Regions from separate parts of the Homo sapiens genome. Here all the other regions are linked to region 1. The links are contacts of gene promoters, found by promoter capture Hi-C in blood cells and fetal thymus (Javierre and others, 2016). All regions are on one chromosome and are shown on one strand. Each heading gives the region's core, a stretch centred on a gene start or on the middle of the fragment in contact. The rest is flanking DNA. Distances are from core to core; before and after follow the strand shown.

Region 1 (4,039 bases), core at 1,540-4,039:
GTAGATAAAGAAGAGAGCCAAAGACAAAGACTTGGGGCATTCCAACATTAAAAGTTTGGAGAGAAGAGAAAGCACCTCATAGAGGAGACACTGGAGATGTAAAGGAAAACTGAGTGATGTCCTTGAAGCCAAGTGATAAACTTTATCCAAGAGAAGAAAATGAACTGTCCAGTGCTGCTGATAGATAACTTTATATTGCCAGCTGTAAAATGTACTTTCAATTAGCCATTTCAAATTTGTTTACCAAAGCAATGATTTTGTTGGCTAGTTTTCTAAACTTCAGTAACTTTTCAGTGACTTGTAGGTTTTCATTGCATATACAGCTGAATTTTTTTTTTTTTTTAAACAGGGTCTTGCTGCCACCCAGGCTTGTATAGTGGTGCGATCCTAGCTCCTGCAACCTTGAACTTCTGGGCTCAAACAGTCCTCCACCTCAGCCTCCCAAGTAGCTGGGGCTACATGGCGCATGCCACCACACCTGGCTAATTTTTTTTTTACATTTGTAGAGGGAGGCCTTGCCATGTAGCCCAGGTTGGTTTCAAACTCCTGGGCTCAAGGGATCCTCTCACCTCAGCCTCCTAGAGTGTTGGTATTACAGGTGTGAACCACCATGCCTGGCCCAAAAGTTGTTTTTTTTTTTTTTAAGTTATTTTCTGTAATGCATTTTCTGTGAATTTATTGTCTTAAAAATTGGCAAATATGGCCATTTTGACATATTTGCCAAATATGAGCATATGGCAACTATGCTCTTAATTTGTTAAGTCACCAACTGTTGGTGGTAACTGTTGAAATAACAAGAGCAAAGTTATCACCAATCTACGGGATCCTTACACTACTGATATTTTCAATAATGCACCGTAGTCAGACATTGTAGACTTAACCTCTGAGCTGCTCACAAAATTACTAAATCATTCTGAAATACGTAACTGCAAATTCTGGGCTTTAAAGTCTCTAGTTAAATGGGTGATTTTGAAAATTGGTGGCTGTTCAGACATTTTCAAATGAGAATAGAATGCATTTGTTTCAGACTGATAAACTGCAGAAGGTTAGATAACACCAAACACATTTGAGTTTCTCCTAAGAAAATGACTTGGGCCTCCAGATTACATCTCATTTTTTTTTTTTTTACCCTATCAAGTTTGTTTTTCCATATGAAATGTCTTTCCCAACTACACCTGCCCTTGGAGACTGTGAATAACAGACTTAAAGGAAGTATCCTTTCCAGATGAGCTGAAGAATGTCATCCTCTTAAAAGAATGAACAGCTGGTCATGTAGAAATTCTCTGGAATGCTCACTTGTCCTACAAAGGCAGGGGAGCAGAAAACATGTAGTTTTTTTGTTATTGGTATACATAATTGTAAATCTTCGAGATAATTTTACTAGAAGTCCACATAATTTTAATAATTGCCTTTCTCCTGAAAAGATTGCTAATAAATTAACAATGTGAAGGCTAGAAAGCTGGCCAAGCATAATCCGGTGGGACTCAGGATTGCTGGCTGGATTGTCCCGTTTGATCAGACATTGTTTCTTAGATGAATATTCAGGACGCCCTCGTGTATAAAAGTTGTCCTTTGTTCTGACTACCTTGGTATTAAGTTCGAATTTCTTACCATGACACACAAAGGATTCGATTCTTGCTTAGCTCTCTAAGCTCCTCTCACTTTCTCTTCCCCTCTTGAATTCTTTGCTCTTGCCACACAACTAGCAGATGAACTAATCTATCTGTTCCAACGTGGGCACAGTAGCAGCCGTAACTCTTACCTTGGCCCACTCTGACTTGTCCAGCCCTGGTTGAATTCTTCGTATCCCCGTGAGGGTCCGCACGTAGTTGGGGCTGTTTACTAAACGGATGAACTTCCCTACCGGGAGGCTAGGTCTCGGTTATGCCTTACTTCCCAGGAAGCGGCTTCTATAGGCATTGTTTAAATGTAGGAGTAGGAGGGAGCTGGGGGTATTGCATTCCCCAGGTCACAGATAAATGAGATTCCAAAACCAAGATCTGGCTAGGCCTTGGAAAGAGGGACCTGCGAGGCCGACCAGACGTTTGGAACTGCGCCTTGCAGTGTGGGATCTCAGCACCGGATATTACCCCGGTTTGTAGAGAGTTGAGTTACTGTTTTAAGAGACGTTGCAAACCGTACGGGTCAAGAAGAAAGCCGAAGACGGGTTAGCGCCTGCGGTCGGGGTCGAGAAAAGCAGGCGAGATGCGACCTGACGTGGGTCCGCCTCTCTCCACCCGTGGCAAGCCCGACAGTCGCACTATTGCTTTAACAATCGCCCTCTTTCCAAGAAGAGCTACTTAGTGACCGTGAGCGAATATGCGTGGGAAGACACGATGTCCTCTCGGCCTCTGTGCGCTCAGTTGTTTACCTAGGCGTCCGGGGGAGGCACACTCGCGGGACTCGCGGGACTCGGCCCCGGCCTCCCAGCTCGCCCAGGACACGACGCTGGTTCTGCGGGCTCTCGGAGCCCAGCGCGAATCCCCCGGGCTAATTCCCAAGAACCGAGAGGCAGCACTGCCTGGAGGCTGCCCCCGCCTCCGCGCCCCCGTCCTCACTTTCTGAGGCTGTTAGCAGAGAGTCCCGCGGGCCGGGGAGAAGCGGGACGCGGGGGATGGCCTCGCAGCGCCCTGTGAGCGTCGGCAGTAGTCAGGCAGCCAGGGCTCCTTGGGCGATCGCCCTGGGTAGAGGAGAGGAGTTTCCGGGGCTCGGGTCCGGGTCGCCTTCCAGGGGAACGAGCGCGGAAGCAAGTGGGCGGCGAGAGGCGGAGCAAGAGACGCTGGAGGGCGTGGACGCAGCGGGCTTTGGAAAGGCCCCAAGTTAATGAGGCGTGCGCCGGCTGCCGAGCGCCTCTTGGAGCTGGGCTTTCCCCCGCGGTGCGGGCGCCAGGAGCCGCCTTTTCCGCTGGGTGTCACTCGGGGGTGGGGAAGATGGCCCATTCAAAAGCGCCGCGAGGGGGCCCGGCCAGTGCCCTTCAGTGAGCGCTCGCAAGAGGACGGCAGAGGCCCGGCAGCTCGGAGCTCCGGGACCTTGTGGCGCATCAGGACGCGGCTGTCCCTCTGCCGGGACCCAGAGCCGCCGCCGCCGCTCTGCCTCCTGCGTGTTAGCCTCCTCTGCGCGCTCCGGGCAGGCGGCCGTGGGAGCCGCTGGGGCGAGGACGGCGCGAGGCTGCTGCTGCTGCCCCCGGCCCGCGCGGCTGGAAACGGAGAGGCCGAGCCAAGCGGCGGCCCCTCTTATGCTGGGAGGATGCTGGAGAGTAGCGGCTGCAAAGCGCTGAAGGAGGGCGTGCTGGAGAAGCGCAGCGACGGGTTGTTGCAGCTCTGGAAGAAAAAGTGTTGCATCCTCACCGAGGAAGGGCTGCTGCTTATCCCGCCCAAGCAGCTGCAACACCAGCAGCAGCAGCAGCAACAGCAGCAGCAGCAGCAGCAACAACAGCCCGGGCAGGGGCCGGCCGAGCCGTCCCAACCCAGTGGCCCCGCTGTCGCCAGCCTCGAGCCGCCGGTCAAGCTCAAGGAACTGCACTTCTCCAACATGAAGACCGTGGACTGTGTGGAGCGCAAGGGCAAGTACATGTACTTCACTGTGGTGATGGCAGAGGGCAAGGAGATCGACTTTCGGTGCCCGCAAGACCAGGGCTGGAACGCCGAGATCACGCTGCAGATGGTGCAGTACAAGAATCGTCAGGCCATCCTGGCGGTCAAATCCACGCGGCAGAAGCAGCAGCACCTGGTCCAGCAGCAGCCCCCCTCGCAGCCGCAGCCGCAGCCGCAGCTCCAGCCCCAACCCCAGCCTCAGCCTCAGCCGCAACCCCAGCCCCAATCACAACCCCAGCCTCAGCCCCAACCCAAGCCTCAGCCCCAGCAGCTCCACCCGTATCCGCATCCACATCCACATCCACACTCTCATCCTCACTCGCACCCACACCCTCACCCGCACCCGCATCCGCACCAAATACCGCACCCACACCCACAGCCGCACTCGCAGCCGCACGGGCACCGGCTTCTCCGCAGCACCTCCAACTCTGCCTGAAAGGGGCAGC
Region 2 (4,039 bases), core at 985-3,484, 500 kb after region 1:
GAGCATGCCCTCAGATTGCCTGGTCAGAAAGGAATGCAAGTAGTTGGAAATCTTTCAGTTATTTGTTATCCAAGGTAACAATGCATTTTAGAAGGAGGAATCACTTGTTGTTGCTATTTCTAAATCTATTTATAAACTTTTATGTTCGCTGAAGGACGAGACACCCTAGAATTAGGACTGATATAGATTTAGAAAGATCAGATGGTTATTTAAGACCTTTTGAGAGCAGATAAGGCTCTCCCTAGAAGTTAAAAAAGAAGAGGTTTGACTCTTAAAGGCTATAATTTCTACCACTTAAAGGGATTATTATATAAACTGAATATTAGCATTATATTTTCTGTTAAATTACAGTCTAAACAAATGGCTTTTGATGTTAAGCTGATTGTCCTAACCAAAATATTATCTTATTATTATTCATTTTTAAACACTGGTGCATCCCAACCACTATATGTTCCCATTTTGCCAAATAAATCTTATGCTCTAAAATTATAATTATAATTAAAATTATATCTCATTGAATTTTGTTGAATTCTATATCAATAATTCCTCATCTACTTAGTCCACAAATATGTGACAAACATAAAAAATGGCAAAAACTCTTAATTTATGTGATTTTTTTCCTTTCTCTACCCTAGTACCTTTCACTGAAGACAAATTTATTGTAAAATTTCTACTGGGATTCATTGTAGGTAAGGACATTTAACTTATTAATATCATGGGACTTTTCAATGAGTTTTTCATGAACAGGCATTGTAAGATTAGCTCTTCTGGCATTAGACCTTTAGGTCATAAAATACATCAAGTTTGCTGTTTCTTTCCTCTGTCCTCCTGCCTCATTTCCACTAATAAACTTCAACCACCACATAATTATTTTAAAACTAATATTATTAAGTTTTCAAAGTGGTGACTCTTGATAAGTTATCATAGATGCTTAGACATTGCCAGTTATTGTTGGCCAACTAAGAAATTTGTCTTAGAAGAAAGCAAAGTTTAAAAAGTCAGTATTTAAGTAAAAATATATTCAAATTGAATTCTAGCAGTAATGATCTTCACTTTTCCCAGATTTTATCTAAAGGCAAATAACCTCTATGAGGGAAGGATTGCATTTGCAGGCACATATATATATGTGTGTGTGTGTACATATATATGTGTGTATATATATATATATATATATACACACATATATATACACGTGTGTGTATATACATGTATATATATGTAGGCGTATATATACACATCTGTAGGCATATATACACATGTGCATATATATACATACATATGTACATACACATATATGTATGCCTACAAATGATTGAAATTAATTAAAATACATAATACAAATATAACTAATATATATACATATACATGTATATATGTATACATTATACACACACACACACACACACACACACACACACACACAGTGTTGCCAGCATTAGCTGTCAATGGCTATGTGTCTATTCTAATTTATCAAGAGTCACCATTTCGGAAACTTAATATTAATTTTAAAGTAACAATGTAGTGGTTGAGAGTAATTAAGTAACTTGACCAAGATCACACTGCTAGTAGGTTGCAGAGCTGGGTTTCAAATGTAGACACTGGTCTCTTAATCTGACATTCACTTATTTAACAAATATTTATTAAGCATGTACTATGGGCAGGATATTGTGTGAGAGGATAAATAAACGAAGAAATTAAGACAGAATTTCCTCTTTCAAGGAAATCATTGCTAATTTCAAAAGAATGTGGAAGGGTCTCAACAGAACATTCATGGGATATCACAGAGAACCATGCTATGTATGCAAAAGAAGAGTGGTCTTTCTAATTCTCTTATGAAAAATGCCCTTTCTTCAGAAGAAATTAAGTAAGTGAAGCCTTCCAGAAATGTAGGACTGTAAAATATCTAGTTCCTTGATTCTCTTAATTCAAACTTATTTTCATTTGAAGAAATAACTTCAACTTCTATTTTAGATTCAGGAGCTACATCTACAGGTTTGTTAGCTGGGTATATTTTGTGATGCAGAGATTTGGGATATTATTGATCCCATCACCTAGGTACTGAAAATAGTACCCAGTAGTTAAGTTTTTCAACCCTTTTGCCCTCCCCTTTCTAGTAGTCTCGAGTGTCCATTGTTGCCATCTTTATGTCCATTAGTACCCAATGTTTAGCTCCTACTGTAAGTGAGAACATGTGGTATTTGGTTTTCTTTTCCTTCATTAATATGCTTGGGGTAATGGCCCCCAGCTGCATCTGTGTTGCTGCCAAGGACAAAATTTTGTTCTGTTTTATGACTGCATAGTATTCCATGGCATGTATGTACCACATTTCATTAACCTATCTACCCTTGCAACTAAAACAAAAATTGACAAGTGAGACCTAATTAAACTAAAGAGCTTCTGTACAGCAAAAGAAACTATGAACGGAGTAAACACACAACCTACAGAATGGGATAAAATGTTCATAAAGGTCTAATATCCAGAATCTATGAGGAACTTAAACAATTTAACAAGCAAAAACAAATAACCCCATTCAAAAGTGGGCAAAAGGCATGAAGAGACACTTCTCAAAAGAAGATATACAAGTGGCCAACAAACATATGAAAAAATGCTCAACATCACTAATCATCAGAGAAATGCAAATCAAGGCCACAATGAGATACTATCTCATATCAGTCAGACTGGCTATTATCATTATTATTATTATTATTATTTTGAGATGGAGTTTCACTCTTGTCACCCAGGCTGGAGTGCAATGGTGCGATCTCCACTCACTGCAACCTCTCCCTCCCAGCTCCAAGCGACTCTCCTGCCTCAGCCTCCCGAGTAGCTGGGATTACAGGTGCCCACCACCAGGCCTGGCTAATTTTTTTTGTATTTTTTTCTGTAGAGACAGGGTTTCGCCATGTTTGCCAGGCTGGTCTTGAACTCCTGGCCTCAAGTGATCTGCCTGCCTTGGCCTCCCAAAGTCCTGGGATTACAAACGTGAACCATCGCACCTGGCCTCAGCTGGCTATTATTAAAAAGTCAAAAAACAAATGATGCTGGTGAGGCTATGGAGAAAAGGGGACACTTATACACTGCTGGTGGCAATGTGAATTAGTTCAGTCACTACGGAAAGCAGTTCAGAGATTTCTCAAAGAACTTAGAACTGCCATTTGAGCCAGCAATTCCATTAGTCAAAGGAAAATAAATTGTTCTACCAAAAAGACATATGCACTCATATGTTCATCAGAGTGCTATTCACAATAGTGAAGGCATTGAATCAACCAAGGTGCCCATCAAACTCATTTTCTTTGAGTACATCAATGGCTGTGTCTTAGGAATGGTGTTAATAGACTGCATGTGGACCAGCAAAGTACCTGTACCACCAATGCTAGCACATTCCATTTTTACTTCCCTAAAAAGCTAATAAGGTAGGGGAAAAAAATCTACCCCACCAGATCAGTTTCAGTGTTAACAAAGCTAAGACTCAAAGCACAAAATGGGAAAGCCCTGCCCACACCATGAATTGTGTTTACTCATACCCAGAAACTGCTAATTAGGTTACAGATAATTAAACTGTATTACAATCTCGGGATGAACATTTTCTTTATTTTTTTCTGTTTGTTAGTTTATTGCTAATGCATTGTGGGGAACCCTTAGAAAGACTCTGATAATGCTATCACATTACCCTTCCCCAGATTAATTGCATTATCACCAACTGAAATTATCTTTTTGCTTTGGTTGTTATTCGTCTTCCCCAATTAGGATATAAGCACTATGAGATCAGGGACATTATCCATCTCACTTAGCCCTACAGATGTTCCTTAACTTATGATGGGGTTGTGTCCTGATAAACCCATCATAAGTTAGAAAATATAATCTAAATTGAAAATGTACTTAATATACCTAACCTATAGAACATCAGAACTTAGCCTAGCCTATCTTAAATGTGCTCAGACACTGATATTAGCCTGCAGCTGGGAAAAATCATCTAACACAAAGCCTATGTTATAATAAAGTGTTTGATATCTCATGCAATTTATTGAATACTGTACTG
Region 3 (4,039 bases), core at 420-2,919, 450 kb after region 1:
TCACAGGAGCCATTTATGTAAATATGTGAAGAAATTATAGGTCTGCCATGTCTTAGGAGAACAGCACCTCGAAGCCTGGCATTTTAAAACAGCTTTTAGACTCCTGAGCATAACTTCGGTGCAGAAATGAAAAGATATGCATACACAGCTCAGTGAATTGTCAGTGGCATGTCGTGAATTAGAGCATCACTCAAGAGGCTGTTTCTCTGCTCATTACTAAATCTGCAATTTTTTTTTTTTACCATGGCACTTTATGATGTTAAATCATGAAGCTACCTCCAAAAAAAATCTTATAAAACTATTTTTTCCTGTAATCTCAGCTACTGGGGAGGCTGAGACAGGAGAATCTCTTGAATCTAGGAGGCAGAGGTTGCAGTGAGCTGAGATTACGATACTGCACTCCAGCCTGAAACTATTTTTTCCCTCAAACTACTTTGGATATAATTTCCTGTTTCTCGGGAGGCACTTCTTATAGTTTAAGTTACCTAAAATGTCACCTTGTTGTATGATTGCATTGTTCTGCGTTGGTGAATTTTTCATGTGCTTTCCCAGGCTTGATCCTGCAGTTATCAGTGGAGTGAGAAGCCAAAAAAGAGGCGAGGGGCTGGGGTGCAGAAGAGGGTGATGTAAATACCTGTGCCAACCCTGAAGCAGCCCCTTCAATTCTAGATGCTGTCAGCTGGAGATGCTGTCAAAGTTTATATTCCTTCAGCTGGACAAGATGTTGAAGATACACTTGCTTCAAGAACACCCTCATATCCTTGACAGAATAGCACATTCTTTTCCCTGTTACTCTGAACGTATAAGTCCATATTTAAGGCAACAATTATGTGAACTGTCAGTCTTTCATCAACAAGAGAGATGATATTGAGACTCATTGTGATAATATTACTATTCCAGTATATGTAAAATCTTGTGAAAAAGACTACTTACTGCTCAAGCAAAATTTTGCCTTTCACAAAAAATTTCCTCTGATTGTTCAATCAGTTGGTATTGTGAAAACCTGGAACTTCTTTATGAAATGCAGTATTCTGAAATGGACTTAAAATTGACCATTTTGCAGACATAATGGCAAGTGTATTTCATCAGAAATAATAATAGCTATACCGTGTATTGATCGTTTATTCTCTGCCACACAATCATGCCATCTATGTGATCTTTCTTAATCCTTACGATAACCTGTGAGTAAGGAAGCTGTTATTATTCTTGTATCATAGATGGAAAAGCTGAGGTTAGAAAGGTGAAGTAACATGTTCAATTTCATGTGCCTAGAAAGTGGTGGAGCCAGGATGTGACCTCCTTTCTGTCTGATCACAAAGCTGATGCCCTAATCACTAACTTCAACCTCACAGAATTAACATTACATGACAGATTTTGGAAAATGGTTTGGTTGGCTCAAAAGTGAAAGTGTTGCTGAAGTAAGAATATGGTAGAATTTTCTTTCAGAAACTTTCAGAAAGTATTCATACTTGCTATAAACTGAATGCTTGTGTTTCCCCCAAATTTATATGTTGCAACTTAATCCCCAACCTAATGGCATTTGTGGGTGAGGCCTTTGGGAGTTCACGGTGGGGAGCCTCATTGAATGGCATCAGTGTCATTATAAAAGAGACTTCAAAGAGCTTCTTCACCCATTCCACCATGTGAAGACACAGCAAGAAGACAGCTGTGTCTACAAACCAGGAAGCAGGCCCTTACCAGACACCCAGTCTGCCCGTGCCTCGATCTTGAACTTTCCAGCCTCCTGAACTGTGAAAAATAAGTGTCTGTTGTTTAAGCCATCTGGTCTATGACATTTTTTATTATAGCAGCCCAAATAGACTAAGACAATACTCATTAACTTTCTGTCTGCTGTACATCCATTAGTTAGAAGATAAATATATATTTTGCTAGTTTTTTAAAAAGCCAATACTACATGATTCTCAACCTGGAAAAATAAAGTGGCTTGAGACGAGCAAGAATCCAGGTCACCTTTAAAATGCCTCAGCGCTTTTTAGCTATTTTTAAGTTAAGATATTTTTGTATGAATCCAATAATATAACCAGAATGTATTCAATAGCCATAAGCACTGAAAAATCTCACAGTGGTTCTAGGAGAAAACTTTCATTATTACTACCATTTTGTGGGCTAAAGAACAAGCATACTAAAATATTTTAGTACTGAATATAAAATAATGGCACTTAATATGTGCCATCTCTTAAGCACTTAATATGTGCCAGATACTCAACATGTGCCAGACATTCATTTTTTTCACATAGTAACTCTAAGAACTAGATACTTCCATGTTACAAATGATAAATTTGAGATAGAAAGTCACATAACTTCCCCTAGCTCATACAAAGTATCGGAGTCATGATGAAAGCCAGGCATCAAGTACAATCTCTATAGTCTACACTCCTGATCATTCTGTAACATGGCCTCTTCTTCTATATAGGCTTCTGTATTTACATATTAAACATACCATATGTTGCTATTATGTTTAAATTGTATATTACATTTATTTTCTGGAGTCACTTTCCATGGTGACTAAAATTCATAATGGTGGCTATGGCTCAAATTTCTTTTTTTTTTTCTTTTTCTTTTCTTTTCTTTCTTTTTTTTTTTTTTTCCAGACAGAGTCTCACTCTGTTGCCCAGGCTGGAGTGCAGTGGCACCATCTCAGCTCACTGCAACTTCCGCCTCATGGGTTCAAGTGATCCTTGTGCCTCAGCAACCCAGACAGCTGGGATTATAGGCATAAGCCACCATACCCGGATAATTTTTGTATTTTTAGTAGACACGGGGTTTTCCAATATTGGCCAGGTTGGTCTCAAATTCCTGACCTCAAGTGATCTGCCCACCTCAGCCTCCCAAAGTGTTGAGATTACAGATGTGAGCCACCACGCCCAGTTCAAATTTCTATAATTATCTGATTTGTTCAGTAGCATTTTTGGTTTTTATTTCTTCCAGGACAGAATCATTATGATATTATGCTTTTTCAGTTCATTCATTAATTTGTCCAGTGTGTACTGCCTGTGCTAGCTATAACACACTCTACTAGACCTTTGAGGGAGTTGCAAAGATTATTACTGCTTTCAGCAACCCACGACTTGAGGGAGAAGGCAGTGTGATGGAGTAAGGCACAGCTAGCTTGACGACAGTATAGGATAAAGTAAGACAGGAACATAGGTGAGAATTAAGCATTTAGAAGTTGAAAGATGGGATTCAGTTTGATCAGGATAGGGGTCAGGAAAGACTTGTGAAGGCGATGCCATTGAGGATGGTTCTCAGCATTCTCTCCTCTATGATGAGAGAATAAAATGCAGTGGATGAGGATGTCCTCAGGGATGAACCTTTGCTATCAGGGATGTTACATTTGGAAGGGATCTCAGAGACACTGCGCTTAATTCTCTCATCATAAAGGAAAGAATGCTGAGAACCAGAAACGTTGAGTGATTTCCCAAGGTCACACTCACCCATCTGTAACCTCTACTTCAATTTCAAATCTGAATGCTTGTTTAATGCTTTTTAAAAAACAGTTTTGACAGATTTGTCCTGATTTTAGTGCTAGTTACCTGACTCACGTCTTAAGGATACTCTCGAGGACCAAATAAAATAAAATAAGATGTAGTAATTAGGAAAAATCATTACGGAAAAGTAATGCTGACTAGTCAACTCTAATGTAGAGTCTGACAGATTTAGTGCCAAGTCAGGCTTGGAAGAGAAGAGGAAGTAGCAGATGGAGTTTTATGCTGGTAATGACAGCAGGTGGGAAACAGGTAATAGCAAACAGATGGGCCCCATAGTATATAAAGACCACCAGCATCTCATTTTCTAATGCTTTGTTCCCAAATAGTAGTAAGATTCAATTGAGTTCTTGTAAAAATCTTATTGAACACAAACTCACTATTAGGTATAATGTTAGGTATCACAGAGGGACAGTTTAAAAATAAAACTGTTACTATACTGAAGCTCAAGAAAAGTAGGAAATATGACACAAGTACAAAAAAAGAACAATATAATACAGAAGAGCACAAATAAATGCTGCAAAAGAAACACA
Region 4 (4,039 bases), core at 819-3,318, 430 kb after region 1:
AGGATAAGCACCGAGCAAAGATAGCTTTTCCAATGAAGGTGACAGGAATGCCATCTTCCAGGGTGGAGATGGTGGTCCACTTTCTGGTGCCCTTCTGTCCTGTGCTGTCCCTGATCTTTGGCAGCAGGTATTTGCTATCAGTATCTTAGAATATTGGCTGTGATTTCAATCAAGAATGGATCGAGCTCTGTCTTATTCTAGTCCTCAAAGGCCTCCGTCATCTTGTTTTGATTTCATTCAAGAATGAGTCGAGCTCTGTCTTATTCCAATCCTTAAAATCCTGTGCCATCTTGTTTTGCTCCATGCCCAGCACATGTTTCATCAGGTGGTAAGCCCCACAGATCAGCTGCATATCCCCATACTGTATCCCATTGTACACCATCTTTACAACGTGGCCTGCTCCCTCCTCTCCCACCCAGTCAGAGAAAAGTTCCTCAGTTCTTTCTTTTGCAGTGATGCCTTAGAAGATTGCCTTGATAGGGGCCAGCTTTTGTTCCCTCTTGGCATGAGTGATAGGCCATACTGGGATCCTTTTCCTCCAGCACTAACTTTGCTCTCCACTGATAAAATTTTCTTGGCCTTGTGGTATCTACATCGTCTTGTGTCATCCCTATATTCAGAATTTCCTCCATCAATGATGACATCACCAGTGTGCAACAATGGTACTAATTTTTTCATGAAATCATCAACAGCTTGACCAGCCTTCACAAGAGGGATGATACGCCTGTGGCTTTTTCAGTTTGGAGACCATCTCCGTCAAGGACTGAACATCAACATCTTTGGTTCCCTTTGCCTTGTTGCCAAGAAATCATCAACTTTGGAGACTGTACTATTAAAAGCACAGGCCATGAAGCCATGGTCATTCATGCACAATATTAAGTTCTGGCCCATGACAGCCAGTCCAATCAGTGCAATGCCAGCTTGGGCCATGGTGGAAGCATCGGACAGAGTAGAACTGGAGTGGGCAAAGTGTGGAGGGCTCACGGCTCACAGGCAAGTGAAGGATATACCAGCTGCCAGAATTTTGTCTTTTTAGATGCCTCTTTTTCCTCCACCTTCTGCTAAATAGAAATATTTTTGAAACTTTTATCCTTAGCCATCTACAGAAGCTTAATCTGTGTACTTTGTCCCATGAAAAACACATGTACTTCTTCAGTTTCAGTGACATCTTTATGCCAATTCCCAAATCCTCCCTTGAGTAGTTTTTTTTTCTATTCTCCGACAAGCCAACTTCACACTTCCAAATGGATTGGCCCTTCGAATTTAGTAAACTGCAAACCTCACCTATCTTTTGAGACCCAAAACATTTATCTTTATGACTTTCCTATTGCTATTAATGGCAATGCTATATTCACAGTCTCATAGGTTTCAAAAGGGAAATAGCTTTTGATTTTGCCTTCTCTTTCTCTTCTCCTAGTTCTGGTTAGTCTTCTTTGTAATTTTGTCCCCATTTGTTTATTCCTTTTTATTCCAGTTTTTGCCACCATTATGTGGCCTTCATATCACTACATTTAGACTATGGCAATTGTTAGGGGGATGTCCCTATGTTCCATGACTGCTCAATGCTGCCAGCGAGACTGAAGCTGCAGTTGTACCTTGGTTGCCATGGCACTGCTCCATAACCCAGCCACTATAAGGCAGATGCACTATAAGACTTTCCAAGTCCAAGAAATGAATCCCAGGAGATTTTCCCTTGACTAAATCCCATGCTTACTTTGGCATAACACTTCAGAGGCCAGATTCAATGGGAGAAAACAATAGAGAGAACTTCTTGATGTTGCTGGCCTTCTGCGTTGCAGAGGCTTTGCTGCCTTCTTGCAACTTGACCATAAATCAGACTAAATGTTTTTCGGTGGATAGGGAGTGGTTCTAATGGGATGAAGATGCAAGTTACTTAATAGTCTTTAGCTCCACTACTTTTTGCTTTTCTGTCTACCTAAGTCTTCAAATAACACTTATCGGAGAACTTTGGTGGGTAGGTAATGATTATTTATAAGATGAACAGATTACTGTAAGATTATTTATAAGATTATTGATAAGTACTATAATATTTTTATTTATTACTTATAATAAATAATATATTATTAAATATATATGGCTGGGCGCAGTTGCTCATGCCTGTAATCCCAGCACTTTGGGAGGCTGAGGCAGGCGGATCACTTGAGGTCAGGAGTTTGAGACCAGCCTGGCCAACAAGGTGAAACCCTGTCTCTACTAAAAATACAAAAATTAGCTGGGTGTGGTGACACTCACCTGTAATTGCAGCTACTCAGGAGGCTGAGGCAGGAGAATTGTTTGAACCTGGGAGGTGGAGGTTCCAGTGAGTTGAGATCACGCCACTGCACTGTAGCCTGGGCAAAAGATTGAGACACTGTCTCAAAAAAAAAAAAAAATATATATATATATATAAAATATGATTAATAAATACTCATTATGAGATTAGTTATAAGATGAATTATAAAGAAAGTTTTGCATTCCCTTCTTCTATTCTTTGTACTATCTGTATGGGATAAGAATAACTCATCAGATGGTTCTTAACCTACCAAATAAAACAGGCATTGGCATATCTTATTAATAGAAACAATCAATTCTTGAATATGCTCTAAAGTTATCACTGTGGAACATGCCCTCCTGAAATTAAACAGAGCTAAACAATTTCTGGTATTAATTTGGTTTACACACTTAATCCTGTAGCTTTCTGTCTGATAAACCTCCTTCTGTATCTTTTGACTAATTCCATGGTTTGTTGAGGAAAAGGAAGTTAAGCCTTAATTATTGAATTAGCTTATACGTTTTTGTTTAGGAAACAAACACATTTACTAAGAACATGCTAATTATGGGTACTACCATGTGAGATGTAAATAGACGCTCCATTAATTCAGAAGCTGTACTATTTCTTTCATACAATAGTAAAATTTATTCTTTTTTCAAAATTCTATTTAAGACACTGTTTCCCCTGTTCAGATGAATCTAACTAATCATTTAAATATTCTTGAAAAGCACACTGATTAGCAAAGTAAAGCTTAGGCTTAAAATCTTAACTAGGAGAATTCCTGTTTCCATTGTAAAATAACTTTTTAAAAAATTTGTATAATGAATGAAGTACAAATGCAATTTTGTTACATGCATAGATTGTGTAGTGGTTAATTCAAAGCTTTAGGATATCCATCACCTGGATAATGTACATCATACCCACTAATTACTCATTATCCCCCCACATAAAATAACCTTCCCTATATTTGATTATTTGAAAAATCTGAATGTATCTTACAATCAATGTCAAATGAAATTTGCTGCCACCAGGGAGAAGGTAAGTTGATAAGTAGTTGTCAATGACTAAACATACACAAATTTAACAGGTGTCAGGCTATTGATCATCCAATTGTCACCTCAATTAAGAGCCTACATTAATAACATCACATTCTGGTAAAGTTTTAATGAAATGCATATCCCTGTCACTGAAAACTTTTTCTAAAATAGATTTTATGGTGCAATCTTTAAGTTATTTTGCATTAGGAAGGTTATCTGTTTTAGTTCAGGTGACATATTGAAAGGCTGCAGAAAATTTGGGAGAATAAGTGGAGAATTTTCTAAGATAGCAGAAGTTGGTATAGACAATGTAAGCATCAAAAAGGCACCCGCAGCATCAAATGTCTATTAGTTGAAAGGTCCCAGCCGGCTTATGAGACAAACTACCTCCCAGTGGTATATCATTTAATTACCAGAAGTAAAATTACAAATTTGGCTAAGTAGAGAGTTCAGATGAATCCCTGGTACTGTTTAGGATGTCTCATGGTTGTGATTAAGCCTGAATAGTGGTGTGTAATGACACTTGATGTTGCACATGACTGCCAAGGGACAGCAGTGACTTAGAACAGTCTTTACATCCTAAATGTTAAGAAGGCTTAGACCAATCTTTCTCAATGTATGTTGGTGGGCTACATTAGAATTAGCTGATATGCTTGTTTAGAATTGATTGCATCCCTGGGATCTCCTGCTCATCCTCAAGGTAAAATATGGAAGGTAGGAGCCAGGAATG
Region 5 (4,039 bases), core at 442-2,941, 440 kb before region 1:
TTAACCTGAGTGTTGAAAGGAACTTAGGTATTTGCCTGGTGAAGGTGAGAATGGCATTGTAGGCAAAAGGAGCTGTGAGAGTAACAAGTAAATTGTTCAACAACATGGTATGTTTGAAGAAGTGAAAGTCATTTTCAGTTTGTCACATTTGTGAAGTGTAGGATTGATGGGTGTTTGGAGGAATGCATGACATAAGATTGACAAAATTGTGAAGAGCCTTGAAGATGGGGTTAAATGTTTTTCTCTCCAATTTTGGTAGGCTGTGGGAGTGCAGAATCATTGAAGTGACTCAACCATGTTGTTGAACAACTTTAGAAGGCTCTCTATGATATCGGTATGGAAGATAAATTGCTTAAGTGTAAGAAATTCAGGTGGCAGGTAGTAGCAGTAACTGTGGATATGAGAAATAAAGGGTAAATATGAGAGACTACGTAGAGCTTTAGGACCTTGTCCTGGACTTAATATTAGGAGTGGAGGAGAATATAGATGAGGAAAATAAAAGTGAAGGAGAAATTTAGAGCGACTTACAGGTTTCTGTGTTGTGTGATTTGGTGGGAGGTACCATTCCTTAAGGGAGAAAATATAGGAAGAAGAGCAGGGGCAGAGAAAGGGAAGATGAAGTCGGTTTTGGACATACTGAGTTTGAGATGTGTATCCAAGTGGAGGTGTACAGAGGCTTGGTGTCCCATACAGTTTCTCATTTAATCCTTTCTATAATACTGTAAGGTAGATGTTACTCTGTTTTTAAGAGATGAAGAAACCGAGGCTCTGAAAGGGTAATTTGCATAAAGTCAGTTAGCCAGACAGTGGGCAGCACTAGGATCTAAATGTAAATATTCTAATTCTCTTATTCTTATTGAAAGAGAGGGCTTTTTTTTGGGTTATAAACTCATCTATATTACACCTAGACTTTTAAGCATCTTTTTAAAGTTGTTATATTCATTAGTTTTTATATTCATTACCTAATATAATTTTTGGTATACATTGAAAAATATGTGATACGTGATCTGTTTTATTTAATCCAAAGCTTTATTTTCCTGTAACTATTAATAATTTTGACTTTTCTATCTAGGCTGAATATTTTGACATTTGAGCACCATGTAGTTGCAGAGACATGAGGAACAGTTGCTAACTGCATTCTTATGTGTGGTAGATTGATGAGTCATGGGGGTTGACGTTTCCATGTTATTATTAGCAGTCTTGCCTGTGGCTTGATGCTGTGCAGTGTGATATACTAATCAGTGATTTGTTAGAAATGGAATAGAAATCTAGAAGGAATGAAGGTATTTTTTTGCAGCTCTTATGTCTTAATTTAGATCTCAGTCATGATTTAATCTAGAATGTAGGCTCACATATCTCTATATAAGCATGCAAAGAATTGGCCAAAATGAAATTTCAAGTAAGATGCTTTTATTTCAGATTGACAATTGAAATGCGTGAAACAGGTCGTAAGATGAAGCATCAGACACTGAAATGTTCATGTATATGCTGTCTCATATAACCAGTTCTCATATCACCTGGCATGATTATGATGTGATAATATGGTTTCGGTTGTGCTATTTCATAACCTTTTCAGGCAACTGTGGCTCGTTAGGCCAGATTTAGAGGAAAATGTTAATGAAGTCAAAGCTCAAGGTTATAGCTTTAATTCTTTTAGTGGGCAGTAAAGTTTTTCTGGTTTCCTAACCACAGAGTCCGCCAGCAGTCTCACCAGATGCATGCCATTAGTTACAAGTGAAAATCATATTGGTTAATTTTGAGCTTCTCTTGTATGTGAAGACCTTGATAAAGGAGGTTGGATTAATCATGGCAAGAGACCACCAGTGCCAGAAGAAATGTAATTCATGTTTCATTACCAAAAACTGATAGTGAATCTGTAACAATGTTATTTTATGCAGGACAGAACTATTTAAGGAAAAGAATGAGGGAATTCTTAGTGATGGAATTTGGGCTTATCAGATGGCCAAAGACTTTGCTAGGTATTAGGGTTATAATCACTAAGCCTTTTTTTTTTCTTTTCTTGTCTTTATTCATTCAGTATTTGCTGAGTGTCCACAATGGTGCCAGGCTCTGTTCTAGTTTTAAGGAATATAGCAGTGAACAAAATAGACAAAATTCCCACTTCAGTGGAGCTAACATTTCAGTAGAGAAAGAAAAAATATATAAATATGAACTGTGTTACGAGATGATTGCTGTGACGAAAAATAAAGCAGGGTAAGAAGGATAGAGAGTAACAAAATAGGGGATGATTGCTGTTTTGGGAATATTATGGAAGTATTGTGATGAAGTAGCTTTTGAGCAGAATCCTAAAGGAAGTTTTCTAGGCAAAAAATAAGAACTGAGTGTAAAGCTTGCATATCTGTTGGGCAGACGGTGGTTAGTCTGTAAGCGTTTGGGGTTGTGGGAAAGGGTGAGTGAAGGGTCTTTCCTCCTACTCAGGAAGGTGGAGGTACAGAGTCAGTGTTGCTAGGAACACATGGAGCTCTGTGGGCTCTCCCCTGCAATCCGACCTGATAATAGAAAGATGCAGTGACAAGACAGATGGAATATCTATTTGTTATGCCTGCAGTGGGAGGTCAGGAAATCCCTTATCAAGGATGTCATGCTTTATATAAGAAGAATGAATTCACCAGGAGAATCATTGGAATGGCCTTGAGGGTCTGCAGCTCAGGAGTGGTTAAGGTAGGAAACTGATTTGGGGAGTTAGTGAACTGAGCTCTTTAAAAAATCAAGTCAATGGAATCACATGGGGAAATCATGTTGAATGGAAATAAGAGATTCTAGGATGCAGAGAGAGGGAGGAGAAAGAGAAAATAGGTTGGAAACTAAGAGAGGACAGAGTTTTCAGAAAAGGAGTGGTCAGCAGTGGCAAATGCTAGAGGTGTGGTCAGTGTTAGGTGAGCTAGGGAAAGGTAAGATTGTGCTAGACCTGAGTTGTCTGATAGTATAGCCACTTCCCACATGTGACTAATTTAAAGTTAACCTAATTAAATTAAAAGTTCTTCCTTAGTTTTACTAGCCACATTTCAAGATTTCAATAGCTACATGTAGGTAGTAGCTACCCTGTTGGACATTACAGATACACACTATTTCTATCGTCGTAGAAAGTTCTATTTGACAGCACTGTACTAGACCATTATAATGGTGGAGAAAAGTTAAATAACAATTGAATTATTTATTTATTTGTATGGCAAGAGAGACAATACTGTGAGATAATTATGAATTATCAAAGAATTCACATTAGAAAGTCAGAGTTGGAGAACGATAACTTTAGCTTGAACATAGGTAGCAGAATTGGCAATTTGAGCTCTCAAGGTGAGGGGTTTGTTGAGTGTCTGCTATGGCGCAAAGCTCTGTTCTAGTTTTAAGAGATATTGCAGTGAACAAAATAGACAAAATTCCCACTCCAGTGGAGCTAACATTTGAGTGGAGAAAGACAGAAAATACATATAAAAATTTCAAGCTATTGAGTAGGAAAGCAGAAACAAAGTAGGGAGAAAATTACAGATCACTTTAAGCAATCAGTTTTACTAGACAGAATTTTAGCTAAGTGGAGTTTGAGTTAAGTGGAGATGTGAGACCATCTCATAGAAAATCATTATTTCTGTGGGATGGATAATTGGGCCAAATTGTAAAATATTTTAACTATCAGTGTTTGGGGTTTATTTTTAAAAGAATAGGGTGCCACCAGATGTTCTTTAGTGGAGGAGAAATGAGGCCAGAGTGACTGCCTAGAAAATTAAGTTGGTAAATTAATCACTTTTTTCTAGGTCCTTTCTTAGTCTTTGTCATTTGTTTTAATAATAAGTAATTCTGCCTTATGTCTATATACTGATTTTCAAAACAAATTTATATACAATACTCAGGTAAACTATTATTAAGCCTCATAACAATTCTAGAAATTTGGAAGGTTTAATAATTAGTGCATTTACAAAGGAGAAAAAGAAACCTCACAGAAAGAAGTTAAGTGGCATGCTAATGATGGGATAGCCTGAAGAATGGGTAATGTTGGGTAGACTGGAGATCACTTATCTTAGTG
Region 6 (4,039 bases), core at 783-3,282, 350 kb after region 1:
GCCCAACTCACTTGACAATTTTGTGCCACAATTTTCTCGTTAGTGAAATGGAATAATGATTAGCCCTTTATCATAGCATCAATTTGAGGAATTAGGAAATGCTTGTAAGACATTGGTAAGTATTCACTAGTGTGTGTTAACAAATGATGTCTATTATTGCTATTGTTATTAACAAGATATTCTGGCTGTGGACTCCATGTAGTTCCAGAACATTTGGTCACAGACTGAACATGTCCAAAACTGTAGTCTGTTAAAGCCTAGACTTGGGTTAGAAATTGCATTTTCCAAAGAATTTAAACATTGCAGGTTGTACTTTCCAAAGATGGCTGCTACAATAGTTCCTATCCCACATGCTATGTGATAATGTGACCTTGCCACTCCTTCCATGAGGAGGTGGGGTTTATGTTTTCTCCCCTTTGAAACTGGGTAGGCTTGTGACTACTTCAACCAATAGAGTATGGTAGAAGTGACACTATGCGACTTCAGAGGCCAGGTCCAAAAATGCTTTCATTTGTTGCACTGAAATACTCCTTCTGGGAGTCCTGTCTGATTCCCCTGGGGCTGCCATGTTATGAAGAAGCCAACCCACACAGAGAAGCCACAGATGGGTGCTCCGCTTGGCAGTCTTAACCTTTGAGCCTTTTCCTCTCAAACACCAGATATGAGTAAGTCTTCAGATAATTCCAGCTCCAGCCATTGATGATTAGTCTTCTCATCTGAGACCCCAGACCTCATGGCAGAGAGAAGCCAGCCCTAATGTCTCCTTTCCAATTCCCAATAAATCCTTGAACATAATAAATTCTTGTTTGAAGCCACTAAGCTTTTGGGTAATTTGTTACATAGCAAAGAATACCTGGGATAGAAATTCTCCCTGGTCTGGCCAGTTCTCCCATCTATGGATTTTCCAACTTTTCTCAATCAAGTAATTAGCATTTACCATGGCCTTTTAATGCAAGTCACTGTGCTAGAACAGGGATAAGCCAACATAGTTAAACAGAAATATACACAAGGATAAAGAATACTTAGGAATCCTATGGTAAGAACTGTGTAGCATAGAGTAGTGCAGGCAGGACTATGGTGTAAACTTAAAAGAGGCTGAGACAATCTGGGAAGGCTTCATGGTAAAGAGGCTTGCATAGGGCCTTGGATAAGTGGTACTCGGATAAATAGAAAAGGGAGAAAATGAATTCCTGGCAAAAGTGTGAAAAAATGTTTTGGAAAAAAAAAAGATTTAGGCATTGCCTCTTATAATTAATCTGTTAAAGTCATATTTGTCTTGCAAAATAATATTTACAAGAAAGAATGCTTTTAGATATATTTCTAATTCTAAGAGAATTTACTTAGTACTTTATAGAGGTTGAGTTATGTCAGTGGTGTCTTAAATTGGACTAATTTCCATAGGATTGATCAGCAAACTTTGCCTCCTATGTAAACATAATTTACAACTTTATTAGAACACACAGAATTTTCTTTCCTTTTTTTTTTTTGAAATGGCGTCTCGCTCTGTCGCCCAGGCTGGAGTGCAGTGGTGTGATCTCAGCTCACTGCAAGCTCTGCCTCCTGGGTTCACACCATTCTCCTGCCTCAGCCTCCTGAGCAGCTGGGACCACACTTTTTTTTTATTATTATATTTTAAGTTCTGGGGTACATGTGCAGAACGTGCAGGTTTGTTAGATAGGCATACACGTGCCATGGTGGTTTGCTGAACCCATCACCCGTCATCTACATTAGGTATTTATCCTGATGCTATCCCTCCCCTAGCCCCCAACCCCCAGACAGGCCCCAGTGTGTGATGTTCCTCTCCCTGTGTCCATGTGTTCTCATTGTTCAACTCCCACTTATGAGTGAGAACATGTGGTGTTTGGTTTTCTGTTCCTGTGTTAGTCTGCTGAGAATGTTGGTTTCCAGCTTCATCCATGTCCCTGCAAAGGACATGAACTCATCCTTTTTTATGGCTGCATAGTATTCCATGGTGTATATGTGCCATGTTTTCTTTATGCAGTCTATCATTGATGGGCATTTGGGTTGGTTCCAAGTCTTTGCTATTGTGAACCATGCTGCAATAAACATATATGTGCATGTTTCTTTACAGTAGAACGGTTTATAATCCTTTGGGTATGTACCCAGTAATGGGATTGCTGCATCAAATGGTATTTCTGGTTCTAGATCCTTGAGGAATTGCCACACTGTCTTCCACAATGGTTGAACTAATTTACACTCCCACCAACAGTGTAAAAGCATTCCTATTTCTCCACATCCTCTCCAGCATCTGCTATTTCCTGACTTTTTAATGATCACCATTCTAACTGGCATGAGATGTTATCTCATTGTGGTTTTGATTTGCATTTATCTAATGACCAGTGATGATGAGGTTTTTTTCATACGTTTGTTGGCCGCATAAATGTCTTCTTTTGAGAAGTGTCTGCTCATATCCTTCGCCCAGTTTTTGATGGGGTTGTTTGTTTTTTTCTTGTAAATTTGTTTAAGTTCTTTGTAGATTCTAGATATTAGCCCTTTGTCAGATGGAAAGATTGCAAAAATTTTCTCATATTCTGTAGGTTGCCTGCTCACTCTGATGATAGTTTCTTTTGCTGTGCAGAAGCTCTTTAGTTTAATTAGATCCCATTTGTAAATTATGACTTCTGTTGTCGTTGCTTTTGGTGTTTTAGTCATGAAGTCTTTGCCCATGCCTATATCCTGAATGGTATTGCCTAGGTTTTCTTCTAGGGCTTTTATGGTTTTAGGTCTTACGTTTATGTCTTTAATCCATCTTGAGTTAATTTTTGTATAAGGTGTGAGGAAGGGGTTTGGTTTCAGTTTTCTTCATATGGCTAGTCAGTTTTCCCAACACCATTTATTAAATAGGGAATCTTTTCCCCATTGCTTGTTTTTGTCAGGTTTGTCAAAGATCAGATGGTTGTAGATGTGTGGTGTTATTTCTGAGGCCTCTGTTCTAGAACACTCAGAATTTTCAACTAATTCCAACAAATATAACGTCTTATAATAGACATTCGTCATCTCAAAGTTACACATCGGTAGTCTTTAGAACTGTTACATCAAAAAATTCTTGAGAAAGCTCTTTGCCCTTTTTAGGAAATATATTTAGATAAATACCCAAATTTTAATGACAAGATATAGCATAGATATAGCTATAACTTACATTTTATAAATAACATATAAATATTCACAAAACACCTTCCTTTTAAAAAAACAAAAACAAAAAGTAATGGCTAAACCAAGCTTTTGCGTTCTTAAGGTCCTGTGACAACTTTTCATTAAGTACCGTAGAAATGTGTGGGCTTGCATTTTTTCTTTTTCTTTTTTTTTTTTTTTAAGATGGAGCTTCGCTCTTGTCACCCAGGCTGCAGTGCAATGGCATGATCTTGGCTCACTGCAACCTCTGCCTCCTGGGTTCAAGTGATTCTCCTGCCTCAGCCTCCTGAGTAGCTGTGACTACAGGTGTATGCCACTACACCTGGATAATGTTTTTGTATTTTTGGTAGCGACATGGTTTCACCATTTTGGCCAGGCTGGTCTTGAAATCCTGACCTCAGGTGATCCACCCACCTTGGCCTCCCAAAGTGTTGGGATGACAGTTGTGTGCCACCACGCCTGGCCTGGACTTGCATTTTAACTATAATTTAAAATTTTTTGCAACCGGTTTGAACATAATTAGTGGCTGGAGTGTATCACTTCTTAAATAGTGAATTCTGCTGAATAGCTCAACTTCCTGCTCATGCTTACATTGGGGCATCCTATCTCCCTTTAAGTCCTCCCTTTTGACCTTAGTCCTTCTCTTTGGATAGCATAGAATAAGGATTCTCTTTCCTGTGTGACAAGCATTCAATTGCTCAAGGGCAGCACCTATACCACCTTTGTGCCTTCTCTTTTGGCTAACAATTCCATGTCTTCTCATATGACCATCTTTCCAGAACCTTCTTTATCTTTATTGTTGTCTTTTAAATCGTTTCCAGAATGTCATTCTTAAAATGTTGCCTAGAACAAATGAATACTCTAGCTGTTAATAATTGCCTTGATT
Region 7 (4,039 bases), core at 602-3,101, 340 kb before region 1:
TTATTGCTTAAGATAACGTCACATTGATAGGGCACAGTCTTGACAGGGGAGGACACAGGATTTGAGCATACATGGAACATGAGTCAGTTATATCAGGGTGATCTTTCTTAATATGTTTATTTTGATTTAATATAGTCTGCTTGTTTTATCCTATTTTTTTCATAGCAGCAATTCAGATTTCTTATTAAACATTTCTAACTAAAATTTGAGTCAGTATTTTTTTACTGCTTGTGCATTCAATAGTACTGTAACTATACAAGCAATTTTTGTTGGGTTTTTTGTTTTGGTTTTACATTATATGTAAATATAAGTGAAAAGTAAAATGTTTAACATTTTCTCGTTTAAAAGCCATTCCTAGGGAGTAGTGACTGTGTTAATCAAATATCAGGGAAACTTAAACTGGGAAAAGAAGTCCTAGCTACTTTGGAAGGTCATTGGGTAAGTATTTTGTATATGAGCTTTACAAAAAGAATTTTATTCTGTGGGAAAAAAAAAATCACATTTAAAATTTAAAACTTATTCCGTTGCTGAAAACATCACTATTTAACATAAGCTTCATCTTAATAGCAGATATTTTGGTGGTGTTCTGTTATCAACAGTAGTTAATTTTGTGTAATATTTTATTTCCAAAACTTAAAATCAGTAGAAATAGCTAACACTTATATATGACTTACTGCATTATTTAAGAATGTTACTCATATTAACTGATTTAATATTTATAACATATAACGCTATGAGGTGAGTATATAGGTGCCATGCCCATTTTATTATTGTTTATTATTGTCCCCATTTTACAGAAGAGGACACTGAGGCACAGAGAGTTCACATAATTTGCTCAAAGTAGGTAGTGGAACAAGAATTAAAGCCCAGGAACCCTGGCCCCAGGACTGTGCTTTTATGCACAGCACTCTACTCACATAGAAGAAAGAGGCATAGTTCCAATTAGAGTTATATTCCTTTCAGTGGAACATGGAAAGGATATAGTGGTGTGTGAGAGCAATGGCTTTTATTTACTTCTCTGCTAACCTAAATTCATATTTATGTAATTTTGTTAAGAGACGCTTAAATGAATAAAAAGAATCATGGTACTGCATGGATATACCATACTATGAGCACTGAGTATATGCTCCTTTCTGCATGCAGTAAGCAGAAAATGTTGAGAAATATGAGAAAGTGAAGTTAGGGACTTTGTTAAGTGGCCACATACACTCTGAAAATTTTTTTTAATTGCCTTAAATCTGAGAGTCTTCTGGAAAAAAGATAAAGCAGCAGTCATTTTTAAAAAATGAAATTTCTGTCTGGGTGGGGTGGCTCACACCTATAATTCCAGCACTTTGGGAAGCTCAGGAGTTTGAGATCAGCCTGGGTGACATAACAAGACCTCTTCTCTACTAAACATAAAAATAAAAAAATTAGATGGGCATGATGGCACATGCCTGTCCCAGCTACTCAGGAAGCTAAGGCAGGAAGATTGCTTGAGCCTGGGAGGTGGAAGCTGCAGTGAGCCATGATTGTGCTACTGCCCTCCAGCCTGGGTGAGAAAGCAAGACCCTGTCTCAGACAGATAGATAAGATAGAGATGAGAGTGAGAGATGACAGAGAGAGAGAGAAGGAGAAGGATGGTTAAACAGGTAGATAAATTAGATAGGTAAAATAGATTAGATAGATAAGGTAGATAGCACCGCTGCACTCCAGCCTACACAAGAGAGCAAGACCGTCCATGTCTTAGATAGAAAGATTATTCGATAGAGATAGACCTCAAATTTTTAATGCTAGTAAAGGCTCTTTCAGAGGGATGTGTGTGTGTGTATGTTTGAGTATATTGAATCCATGGATAGTCAACAGCATCTCATTGTAGCTGCAACAAATACTATGCTCTACTTGGACAGTTTGGAGATGGTTATTGAGGCTTTGCATGTAATGTTTGAAATTTATTAAGTAAAACTTATGAAATTTCACAAACTGGATATTCAACCAAATTCTTTTTAATTAACTAGTATTACGTAGTCAATCTTAATGTTTTTATAAAAATGATAAGAAACTTGGAGTTTTTGGAAAAGTGCTAGTTATATTTGTTTTAAAAATGCTTTTAACTGGAGGATTAACCAGAAGAAATTATCACCGTCATATTACTATACTATATAATTGCCTTCTAAGTATAATTCTTTACATTAATTTTGAATTTTTTTAAATATAGGATAGTGAAGTTTTTATTACTGATAAAAAGACTGATAATTCAGAGGTTTTCTGGAATCCAACACCTGACATTAAGCAATGGAGATTAATAAGGCACACTGTAAAATTTGAAGAACAGGGAGATTTTGAATCAGAGAAGTAAGTATACTGTTTTACAGCTAACTTCATGAGGATCAGAGAGTAGTTTTTCAATTCCTTAATGATATGGTCATTTTGTCACCTTCTGTCATATCTTAATTCAGCAAAATAGTTTATCATTTGTGGAAGTGACAGTATTCTGTTTTTGTGTATATGAATGTCAAATATAATATAAATCGTCTTGCTTTTCTGTAGCTCAAAACTACTCATTTTTTTCTTTCTCAATTGTTCCAGCACCTTAAAAAAAAAGAAAGAAAGAACGTTTTTGTTTAAATAAGATTACAGGACTAATTAATGACTCTTAGTTTCTACCTGGCAACAGTTTTCTAACCTGATTTAAGCATTAGAACTCTAGGTAAAGGGAGTGGTGCAGAATCTACTTCTGTTCCATTCTCTGATACAAAAGTAAAGTTACTGGATGGACTGGCTTCTATAGGATTTATTAGTTGGGTAATAACTAAGGCTATCATTTCTGTTCTTAAGTCATGAACTTCTTGCTAGATGGCTTATATTTTTGAATCAGAAATATTGTATACACATTCCCTATTTTATTGTTGTTATATCTTTGTGTTAAGAGAAAGAGACTTATGTATAAGAGATATTTTGCTAGGCACTTAGTACTTATTATGCAACTTTGTCCTCCCTACATGTTTGCACATACATATCATTCTCTGTCATGGGAATTCAAGTCTGTGTACCTTCCCTTCTACACTCAAATTTGAGGTTGTCAAAGATGGAAGAATGTATATGTACCAGTTCTAAAAATTCTGTCTCAGCCATAACCATTTGATGTTCTTTTTCCAGAGATAAGCTTTGCCAAGGCATACATATGATAATTTGTGAGAGTATATAATTCAGCATATTTGAAGATGAGGAAATGAGACTTAGGATAAATAACTTTAAGTGCACCAGCTAAGAAGTGGCAGCTCTAGGACTTGACTCATGTCTATCTGATCCCAAAGCCTTTTCTGGTTTTAACATGCTGCCTTTCTAGATGGGTAGGATATAGATATACTTTTATTTAACAGAAGAAAGAACTAGTAGGGGAAATCATTTTACCTCAGTAGTCTTTTCTGTTAAACCAGTGGTTCTCAACACTAGCAATACATTAAAATATTTTGGGGAAACATTTAAAAAATATATCAATACTTGCGCCTGACCCCAGAGATTCTGATTATAAAAATTCTCTGATAATTCATGGATCCAAACTTCAGAAGCACTGCATTACATTAATGGATCTTTATGAAGCCAGTGAATCTTAAACAGTGTAAGACGCATCTAGGAAGCTTGCTAAAAGCGTAGATTCCTGAGCTTTACCTTCATTACATCCTATCATCTTGAGCCAGCAACACTTCAACACTTACTATCATGAGTTTAAGAGTCTATGTAGTAAGTTTCTCTTGCCAAGTAAAAAAAATTAGTCTCCACTTATGAACAGGTCTCTCTCTACTCAAGGGACTGGATTTATATCTTGACTCATTTCTAAGCCTATGAGCATAAGTGTTGTCAAAGCCAGAAATTCATGTGAGCATTATTTTCTCTACAAGGGATTTGAGGCCTATTCTATATAGATTTTATTTTCTGTTACATTTTTAATACTTTTAATATTTTCGCACATGTATTAGACTCTGGCAACGGGTAACTCGAGCCATAAATGCCAAAGACCAAACTGAAGCTACCCAAGAGAAGTATGTTTTGGAAGAAG

Evidence for each region. The method cuts DNA at HindIII sites, captures the fragments that hold promoters and counts their contacts. A CHiCAGO score of 5 or more calls a contact.
Region 2: a contact is called between a fragment that was not itself captured here and the fragment with the promoter of PHLDA1 in region 1, in 16 of 17 cell types (M2 macrophages, M0 macrophages, M1 macrophages and 13 more). The highest score is 54.0, in M2 macrophages.
Region 3: a fragment that was not itself captured here is called in contact with the fragment with the promoter of PHLDA1 in region 1 in 10 of 17 cell types (M2 macrophages, M0 macrophages, M1 macrophages and 7 more); the score reaches 22.1 in M2 macrophages.
Region 4: a fragment that was not itself captured here is called in contact with the fragment with the promoter of PHLDA1 in region 1 in 8 of 17 cell types (M2 macrophages, M0 macrophages, M1 macrophages and 5 more); the score reaches 15.5 in M2 macrophages.
Region 5: a contact is called between a fragment that was not itself captured here and the fragment with the promoter of PHLDA1 in region 1, in 1 of 17 cell types (endothelial precursors). The highest score is 6.1, in endothelial precursors.
Region 6: a fragment that was not itself captured here is called in contact with the fragment with the promoter of PHLDA1 in region 1 in 3 of 17 cell types (M2 macrophages, M0 macrophages and M1 macrophages); the score reaches 9.8 in M2 macrophages.
Region 7: a fragment that was not itself captured here is called in contact with the fragment with the promoter of PHLDA1 in region 1 in 3 of 17 cell types (M2 macrophages, M1 macrophages and endothelial precursors); the score reaches 6.1 in M2 macrophages.

What each region holds. Positions count from the first base shown.
Region 1 is chr12:76,030,526-76,034,564 of GRCh38, reverse strand. PHLDA1 (pleckstrin homology like domain family A member 1) reads left to right here and starts at 2,789. Exons shown (of 2, transcript NM_007350.3): 1 at 2,789-4,039. The coding sequence starts at 2,824. The coding sequence ends at 4,029. PHLDA1-AS1 (PHLDA1 antisense RNA 1) reads right to left here. Exons shown (of 2, transcript NR_186034.1): 1 at 3,971-4,039; 2 at 3,187-3,654. PHLDA1-DT (PHLDA1 divergent transcript) reads right to left here and starts at 2,752. Exons shown (of 2, transcript NR_185978.1): 1 at 1,763-2,752; 2 at 176-1,301. RefSeq lists an enhancer at 2,634-2,883 and a silencer at 3,104-3,253. The HindIII fragment of the contact is 8,299 bases long and covers 1-4,039 here.
Region 2 is chr12:75,529,444-75,533,482 of GRCh38, reverse strand. It overlaps LOC105369844 (a long non-coding RNA gene), which reads left to right. Exons shown (of 16, transcript XR_007063375.1): 13 at 636-689; 14 at 1,720-1,864. Among named protein-coding and RNA genes, the nearest start is that of KRR1, 20 kb to the right of the region's middle. The HindIII fragment of the contact is 6,873 bases long and covers 1-4,039 here.
Region 3 is chr12:75,579,405-75,583,443 of GRCh38, reverse strand. The region is part of intron 9 of LOC105369844 (a long non-coding RNA gene); the gene reads left to right. Among named protein-coding and RNA genes, the nearest start is that of KRR1, 70 kb to the right of the region's middle. The HindIII fragment of the contact is 6,909 bases long and covers 1-4,039 here.
Region 4 is chr12:75,596,938-75,600,976 of GRCh38, reverse strand. The region is part of intron 9 of LOC105369844 (a long non-coding RNA gene); the gene reads left to right. It also overlaps the pseudogene PGDP2. Among named protein-coding and RNA genes, the nearest start is that of KRR1, 87 kb to the right of the region's middle. The HindIII fragment of the contact is 1,913 bases long and covers 1,112-3,024 here.
Region 5 is chr12:76,467,882-76,471,920 of GRCh38, reverse strand. The region is part of intron 2 of OSBPL8 (oxysterol binding protein like 8); the gene reads left to right. Among named protein-coding and RNA genes, the nearest start is that of OSBPL8, 90 kb to the left of the region's middle. RefSeq lists an enhancer at 193-272. The HindIII fragment of the contact is 1,323 bases long and covers 1,030-2,352 here.
Region 6 is chr12:75,679,943-75,683,981 of GRCh38, reverse strand. All of the region lies in intron 6 of LOC105369844 (a long non-coding RNA gene), which reads left to right. Among named protein-coding and RNA genes, the nearest start is that of KRR1, 170 kb to the right of the region's middle. The HindIII fragment of the contact is 2,420 bases long and covers 823-3,242 here.
Region 7 is chr12:76,369,743-76,373,781 of GRCh38, reverse strand. It overlaps OSBPL8 (oxysterol binding protein like 8), which reads left to right. Exons shown (of 24, transcript NM_020841.5): 18 at 349-438; 19 at 2,198-2,334; 20 at 3,960-4,039. Among named protein-coding and RNA genes, the nearest start is that of BBS10, 23 kb to the right of the region's middle. The HindIII fragment of the contact is 2,592 bases long and covers 556-3,147 here.